Linked DNA regions of Homo sapiens: region 2 is linked to region 1. Evidence: promoter capture Hi-C in 16 types of primary human blood cells and fetal thymus (Javierre and others, 2016). All regions are on one chromosome and are shown on one strand. The core of a region is centred on a gene start or on the middle of the fragment in contact, and the rest is flanking DNA. Distances in the headings are between cores, read along the strand shown. Region 1 holds the start of SLCO4A1-AS1 (SLCO4A1 antisense RNA 1). Region 2 overlaps LINC02970 (long intergenic non-protein coding RNA 2970).

Evidence for each region. Contacts are between HindIII fragments. The CHiCAGO score rates a contact against its expected background, and 5 or more counts as called.
Region 2: a fragment that was not itself captured here is called in contact with the fragment with the promoter of SLCO4A1-AS1 in region 1 in 1 of 17 cell types (monocytes); the score reaches 5.8 in monocytes.

What each region holds. Positions count from the first base shown.
Region 1 is chr20:62,664,999-62,668,840 of GRCh38, forward strand. SLCO4A1-AS1 (SLCO4A1 antisense RNA 1) reads right to left here and starts at 1,623. Exons shown (of 4, transcript NR_024470.1): 1 at 1,387-1,623; 2 at 862-1,012; 3 at 1-499. It overlaps SLCO4A1 (solute carrier organic anion transporter family member 4A1), which reads left to right. Exons shown (of 12, transcript NM_016354.4): 6 at 1-90; 7 at 1,382-1,577; 8 at 2,747-2,912; 9 at 3,014-3,186; 10 at 3,479-3,543. The HindIII fragment of the contact is 12,915 bases long and covers 1-2,618 here.
Region 2 is chr20:62,595,972-62,599,813 of GRCh38, forward strand. LINC02970 (long intergenic non-protein coding RNA 2970) reads right to left here. Exons shown (of 2, transcript NR_184037.1): 2 at 1-1,247. Among named protein-coding and RNA genes, the nearest start is that of LINC02970, 5.5 kb to the right of the region's middle. The HindIII fragment of the contact is 1,373 bases long and covers 1,232-2,604 here.

The sequences.
Region 1 (3,842 bases), core at 373-2,872:
CCACTCTCATCACCGGCATGTCCACGTTCAGCCCCAAGTTCTTGGAGTCCCAGTTCAGCCTGAGTGCCTCAGAAGCTGCCACCTTGTTTGGTGAGAAAACTGAATCTTGGGGGTCCTCTGCTTTTATGTCAGTTCTCAGAAACAGAGTCTTCAAGGGCATCTTCTAGAAAGACCCAGACAGGGCACATGGCAGTGAGTGCCCTCCCACCCCCGCTGCCAGAGCAGGTGTGGAGAGCGCCACGGGGGCTGAGCGACTCTGTCCACAGGCCGGGAGAGTGGTGGTCCTGCCCTCTTTGTGGGACATGCTCCGTAGGTGGAAGGGTCCACGGTGGGCTCCACCCCCTAGCCACCTAGTCTTGGCTTCTGTGACTTGGTGCAGGAAGGGTTTGGACCTGGCTGTTCCATGAGCCAGGCACTGGTGCCTCAGGACCTCCTGGAACAGTGCAGCTGGGGGTTTCTCGGTGCCAGAGGCAGGCTGGCCTTCCCAGGCTGGGCAGGTCTGCAGAAAGTGGGGACCCCTCCTCAGAGCTGCTCCTCCTGCCAGCGTTCACAGAGTACCCTGGGCCATGGCAGAGGTGCCAGGCATGTGGGCCACCACCGCCAATCTACCGCGCTCTACCCTTCCAGGGTCCACTATCTGGACAGGAAGAGGGCATCAGATGAGGGCTCCCCTCCCTCCCCCACAGGCCCATCCTGGCCTGGCCCCTCTGGGCTGACCTCACAAGCCCACATTCCCACACTCAACAGCCCCCCAGAGGTCAGCTCTACTGCCCCTTGGAGAGCCTCCCCACCTGTCCCCCCAAATCTGTCCCCTCCCCACCTGTCCCCCCAAACCTGTCCCCTCTCCACCTGTCCCCTCACCTGTGCCCTCCTCACTTGTCAGCCCAGAAGCTAGATGCCAGCTAATCGCAATTTTTTACTGTTGGTGGCCACTCAGGCTTCGACAAATGTCCTTGTCACAGCCTGCAGGGACTCGGCAGAGGCCCCTGGGGGAGGAGGGGGTGTGGCTGCCCTGGAGGGGGGTCAGTGGAGGAGTCATTGGCTTCCCACTGGGGCAGGGGCCGCTGACCTTGGAGCACTCTGGGCTCTCCTCCTCCCCCCGCCCCGCCCCGCCCCCCCGCTCCCCCTTCCCCTTCCCCTTCCCCTTCCCCTTCCCCTCTGAGGCATCCCCGCTGTGGGCTCTGGACAGAGGTCCCTCCTAGGGCTCTATCAGCGCAACAGCTAAGCACTCAGGTGTGGTGTTGAGTGCTGCCATGCAGGCAGGAATTGATCCCTCTATGCCTCAGTTTCCCCACCTGTAAAGTGGACCCGGCTGATCCACCACCCTCTCCCACCACGGCCCCCTGCCTGAGTCCCTGGCTGAATCCCTCCCTCTCCCCAGGGTACCTGGTGGTGCCAGCGGGTGGTGGCGGCACCTTCCTGGGCGGCTTCTTTGTGAACAAGCTCAGGCTCCGGGGCTCCGCGGTCATCAAGTTCTGCCTGTTCTGCACCGTTGTCAGCCTGCTGGGCATCCTCGTCTTCTCACTGCACTGCCCCAGTGTGCCCATGGCGGGCGTCACAGCCAGCTACGGCGGGAGGTGAGGGCCAGATGGCACCTGGGTACGCGTCGGGGCCCCAAGCACCCGCGGTCCCTGGGCATGGAGGAGGAGTGGTGCAGCACTTGGGAGAGGTGGTTTTGAAAAGGGCTACGTCACAGGACAGCGGCAAGGGCAACACCCGCTCAGCAGGGCACCCGGCAGCATCCACGTGAAAAGGCACCATGCCAGCCCCCAGCAGTGCCTGCGCTTGGGTCCCGGCTGTGCCCCCGGGCAGTCATATGCCTCTCTGGGCCTCAGCACTCTGCTCTGTAGCTGTGTCAAATGGAACAACAGCCCTAGTGTTCGGGGTCCTTGAGGCTGGTCTCTCGGTGACATAAAAAGTGTCCCAGGATGTGCTCCTGGAGTTGCCATGTGCTGGGAGTGGGAGGGACACCTGCTGGTCAGGTGGCAATTAGGGAATATCCAAAATACACGTAGGTAGCCTGCACCTCGGCCCTGCCCTGCGGGCCCCGGGAGTGCACCTGCAGGTGCCGTGCAAGGCCGAGAAGCACAAAGCAGCCGTTGTGGCATTATCGGAACCTAAGAGTCATCAGGGTGGACGGGGTCACTACGCTGTCCTCACAACAGAGGCCCTGCCCACAAAGGAGTGGAGGAAGCTCATCCTGGGCCACTGCCAAGACATACTGTGAAGTGGGAAAAAGGAAGGAGTTGGACAATGGGCGCAGTGTGCTCTGATTCAAGTGAGAAGTGCAGATGTTTGTGACTGCCGAGGGGCGTGTACGTGCAGACGACCCCTGCAAATGCACAGCCGGCCTGTGGCTGGAGAACCGAGGACTGGGGTGGGGCTGGGGCCACGAGGCTGCCTTTGTGTACTTGGCGCTTTTTCTTTCCTAATGTTTGTATTTGATCCATATGAATGTGTTGCCTGTCCAAAAACAAATGAACTAGGGAAAGGGGCTGTGCATCAGGCGGACGGTGCTGGGGGGCATGGGTGTGCCTTCCTTGCGTGAGGAGGAAAAACCATTCTATCACCAGAAGGCAGTGCCCAGTGTGAGTGCCCAGCGTGCTGGGGGCGGTGCAAGCTTGGCAAGTTTGTAGACCCGAAATGCAGGCTGCATGGGGACGAGCCCCATGGCTGACCCTGTGCCTGCTGGGCGCCAGCATGGCTCTGGCCTGGACCCTACCACTCGCTTGTCCCCCCTCTGCAGCCTCCTGCCCGAAGGCCACCTGAACCTAACGGCTCCCTGCAACGCTGCCTGCAGCTGCCAGCCAGAACACTACAGCCCTGTGTGCGGCTCGGACGGCCTCATGTACTTCTCACTGTGCCACGCAGGGTGCCCTGCAGCCACGGAGACGAATGTGGACGGCCAGAAGGTGAGTGGAGCCGCTGCCTACCGCCCCTGTCCTCCCCTGGACCCTGGGAAGGGGCCCCCGTGCCTTCCCCTTGTAATCGGAGCTATTGTTGGGCTTCCCAGGTGTACCGAGACTGTAGCTGTATCCCTCAGAATCTTTCCTCTGGTTTTGGCCATGCCACTGCAGGGAAATGCACTTCAACTTGTCAGAGAAAGCCCCTCCTTCTGGTTTTCATATTCGTTGTAATTTTCTTTACATTCCTCAGCAGCATTCCTGCACTAACGGCAACTCTACGGTAAGCTGGGGTCGGGTGTGCGCTTGTCCAGAGCTTTCCTTGCAGCACCCTGAGGCGGAGCTCTGCAGATCCTGAGACAGGAGCACTCCAGGAAACACCCAGGTCTAAGCGGGCCTGTCTGTCACTGGTGGCAGGAGAGACCTCACTGTCTCTGATCTCTGACGAGGGGCTTCCCACTTGGGGGGGGGTGATGATGTGGCTGGGGACTGGTCCAGGAGGCCACTGGCCTAGGGGGTGACTTGGCATGCAACCCCACTTCTGTGGGTGCTGACGCTGTGGTTTTCTATTGCAGATGTGTCCGTGACCCTCAGAGATCCTTTGCCCTGGGAATCCAGTGGATTGTAGTTAGAATACTAGGTACTGTGCAGTGTGAGGAAGCCATGGTCAGTTGCACAGTGTGCTCACTGCACAAGGGCATGGGCAAGTGTCTAACCACCAAGGGGATGTGCTTCCCAGCAGGAGGCTGTTCCCGCCTGGGAAGGGGTCCATTCCCTAACTGTCCACTAGAGGGGCCCATCGTCATTTATTTGCCCAAAGGCTTTCCCTGGGAGATCATGGGAAACTCGCAGCCCCAATGCCGAATGCCCAAAGAAAGGAACGTTTAAGCCCTCTTTGCACCCCCTGAGAACTCCAACGGCCAGTATCACCTTCCCAGA
Region 2 (3,842 bases), core at 668-3,167, 69 kb before region 1:
GCCTCAAGGTCAGGAGAGGAAGCCCCACATGCCAGCCTCAAGGTCGGGAGAGGGCGCCCCACATGCCAGCCTCAGCGTCGGGAGAGGAAGCCCCACATGCCAGCCTCAAGGTTGGGAGAGGAAGCCCCACACGCCAGCCTCAGCGTCGGGAGAGGAAGCCCCACATGCCAGCCTCAAGGTCGGGAGAGACCGCCCCACATGCCAGCCTCAGCACCAGGAGAGGCCGCCCCACACACCAGCCTCAGCGTCGGGAGAGGAAGCCCCACACGCCAGCCTCAGCGTCGGGAGAGGAAGCCCCACACGCCAGCCTCAGCGTCGGGAGAAGCAGCCCCACACGCCAGCCTCAGTGTCGGGAGAGGAAGCCCCCACACGCCAGCCTCAGCACTGGGAGAGGCAGCCCCACACACCAGCCTCAGCGTCAGGCTCTGAGTCCCGTTTCTGCCTCTGGGCTCCTCGTATGTGTGTGTCAGCATCAGATGCAAAGAAAGGGGACGTATCCTGGTGGGGGGACCCGGAGTCTCCGTTGCCCCCACAGATCAGTCTCTGGGTGCCTCCCTTGGTGCTGAGAGCAGGGAGGGCCTGAGAGCCATCCCGAGCCCGTCTCGGTTCACGCTTCCCTGCCTGGCAGGACCCAGGGAGAGCTGGGCGGGTGGGGCAGCCACTCCCGGCAGTTCCGAGAGGATCTGGAGGAAACGTGCCTTACTGCAAGGAGATGGCTGGCTAGCGGTGGAGCCCTGGGCGCCCTCAGGGGAGAGCCTTCCGGGGACAGCTGCCACCCTTCTGTGGTGCCGGCCTCCTTCCCGCCATGCACCATGCCCACGGCACCCAGATGGTGGAGCCGCCGCCGGTTCACACTCTGGGGAGTTTTCCCAGCAACAGGTCCCTCCAGCCAGGGCATGCAGGAAAGTGCCCTTACGACGTGCTCAGGGATACAGCCACTGCTCCCAAACGTCTCTGCCCAGAAAGGCAGGTGGGATGTTGACCATAGACACAATAACCAACGCTTGCTGTCGTGGGGCCTGTTTGACAGAGGGACAATGGAGGCCAGAGAGGCAAAGGTGACTTGTCCAAAATCACCCAGCCAGGGCCATTAGCCACCTGCTCAGCACTGCAGCTTTTGTGCCAGGGACCTGCAGACACTCACTCACACTCATGGAGCCAGGAGGACCAATCCATGAGCACAGGGCACCTCGGAGTCCCGGGCGGGCATTCTCCGGCGTCCTTCTTCTGAAGCTTCTGAAAAGTTGCTGAGAAAGACAGAGAGGGTGACAAGAAGAGGACAGGTGTGAGACCCTGCAGAACTGGGTTCCACGTGCCAGCAGGACCCAGAGACCACGGCACTCCCTTCTCCCTACTAACTGGAGACTCCGAGAGGAGTTCTAGACATGGCAAGACGAAACAAGTCCGTATCCCTTCTTTCCCAGAATCGAGAAAAATGACCGCATTTGTCAGCAGAGCATGCACTAGGCGAGCCCTGCCTTGCTGTTTAATTCATCCCAATGCTCCTTCCGAAGGGGCCCTCAGAGGATGCTTCCAAAGCCTGGCATAGGCGAAGCTCAGGACCCTGCACCAGGAGGTCCCACCCCGGAGCCCGGATCACTCCGGGAATCACAGCTTTCGGGAGGAGCACCTTGCTACCGAGCCTTTGGGGTCCTGCCCGGGCCAGCCCTTCTGCTTAGGGACCTGCAGTGACCCTGTGCTGGGTCATGTTCTTCTTGGCACAATGAGCACTCCCTGGGCAGGTGGTCCTGGCCCCTGGGAGCTCGGGGATAGAAACACAGAAGAGGTGTGGTCGGTGCATCTCTCAGATGACTCCACTTAGAGTAGTGTCCCCTGCCTCCAGCTTCCACCAGAGTGTGCCTTGGTGGAGACAGTTGCCAGCATGGAGGGGGCATGACCAGCCTGGGCCACTGCCAGCCTTGCTCAGCTGACAGCTGCTGCATGACCTTTGGCATGGCCTGTGGTCTCCCTAGGCCTCCCCATCTGTTGAACAAGAAGTGATCTGGACCAGAGACAAGCTGGCAGCCACGGCTGGGCAGCACCCACAGGCATGTGCGTCTTAGGGCTGTGCAGTGCTGTTGAAAGTTTGCCGTACACTGCTGGGGGGGATGGAAGATGGTTCGGCCACTCTGTAAAACTGTCCTGCAGGTTCTTAAGCTAGACACACCCCTACCAGAGACTCAGCCGTTCCACTCCTAGGAATTCTTCCCAGAGGGATGAAAACGCGTTCACACAAGGACTTATGCATGACTGTCCATAGCAGTTTTATTTGTGATAGCAAAAACCTGGGGGAAAAACCAAAATGTCTACCAACAAGTGATTGGATGAACAAATCATGGTGCATCCATACAACGCAGAAATAAAAAGGAGTGGAATTTTGAAACACATGACAAAATCAAACGTGAAAATAATTATGCTGCGTGAAAGAAGGCGTGTATACATGTGACTTCGTTCATATGGAATTCTGCAAAATGCAGTTGTCTGTAGTGACATCGGTGGTTCCTGGGGACAGGGGTGGGAGGACACAGGCAGGAGGACATGCTGTGGGTGACGAGGTTCACCGTGGACCATGGGAAGGGTTTCGTGGGTGTGCACATAGGTCGAAGCTTTCCAAATCATCACTTTTACATGTGCAGTTGATTGTGTCAAATAATCCTCAGTAGAGCTGGTCAAGATAGTTGAAACTATATTCAAAACTGGGAAACTGAACATAATGACCCCAATTGCACATTTCTGTTGGAAAATTAGAAGTTCTGGTAACACTAGGCCTGTATTCAGGTGTGGTGTGGGGAGTGGGGTGTGGCTTCCAAGGGCTGGGCGTGGCTGTGTTGGGTTGGGCGTGGCTGGGCTGGACACGGCTGAGCTGGGCTGGGCGTGGCTAGGCTGGGCTGGGTTGGGTGTGGTTGGTCATGGCTATGTTGGGCTGGGTGTGGCTGGGTGTGGTGTGGCGTGGCTGGACTGGGCATGGCTGCACTCAGCTGTGTTGGGCTGGATGTGACTGGGCGTGGTGTGGCGTGGCTGGGCTGTGCGTGGCTGCACTCAGCTGTGTTGGGCTTGGCTACTGCCCTCTGCACAGGCCTCACCGCTCCTCACTGTCCACGCGCTCTGTGGTCCAGCATCATTTCTGGTCTCGTTGGCTCTGCGGATTGTGTCCCTTATGCCTGGCCAGCTGCCTTCATCAAGGGTGACTGCCTGGTGCCTGCACAAGTTTGAGTTTGATGGACTTAAATGAATTTCACACTTTTAGTCACTGAAACTTTGGCCAACCTCCATCTTCCTACAGAAGCTCCAAGCATGAAAAACACAAATGTGGAGTTACGGTGTCTAAAGCGCTGTCAGCCCTTCCAGCCCTGCACACTCCCTCCTTCTCCTCCCGGGGTGGCCACGAGGCAGCTCTAGGGTTTGCACATCAGAGTAGTGCTGGGTGTCCTTCCCCTCCCTTGCCCTGGCAGTTCCAGGCCCTGTGCCAGGACCACACACCTCCCACACAGGTCCTCTCATGGGGCTGGTGCCCCCGAGCACACGATCCCCTCTCCCTGATCCCAGGCTCCTCTGTCATGGGAGGGGTGCGAGTTCTTGGAGGCCGAGAGTGTGGCCTGCCCAGGACCACTGGGAAAATGCAGGGTGAACTGTGGGTCTGGGTGACTCTCATGAGCCCCTCCTCCATCCCCCACAGCCCCTAAAGAGTGGGACGGTCTCAGGACCGCGTCCCGGGGTGAATCGTGCTCCTGAAATGGGGACTGTGGTGCACAGTCACATCATCCCTTCACACGGCGGCCACCAGGACACCTTCAGGGCACTTCCGGTGGCAGGAAACATCCCCAGGCCTGACTGCGCCTGAG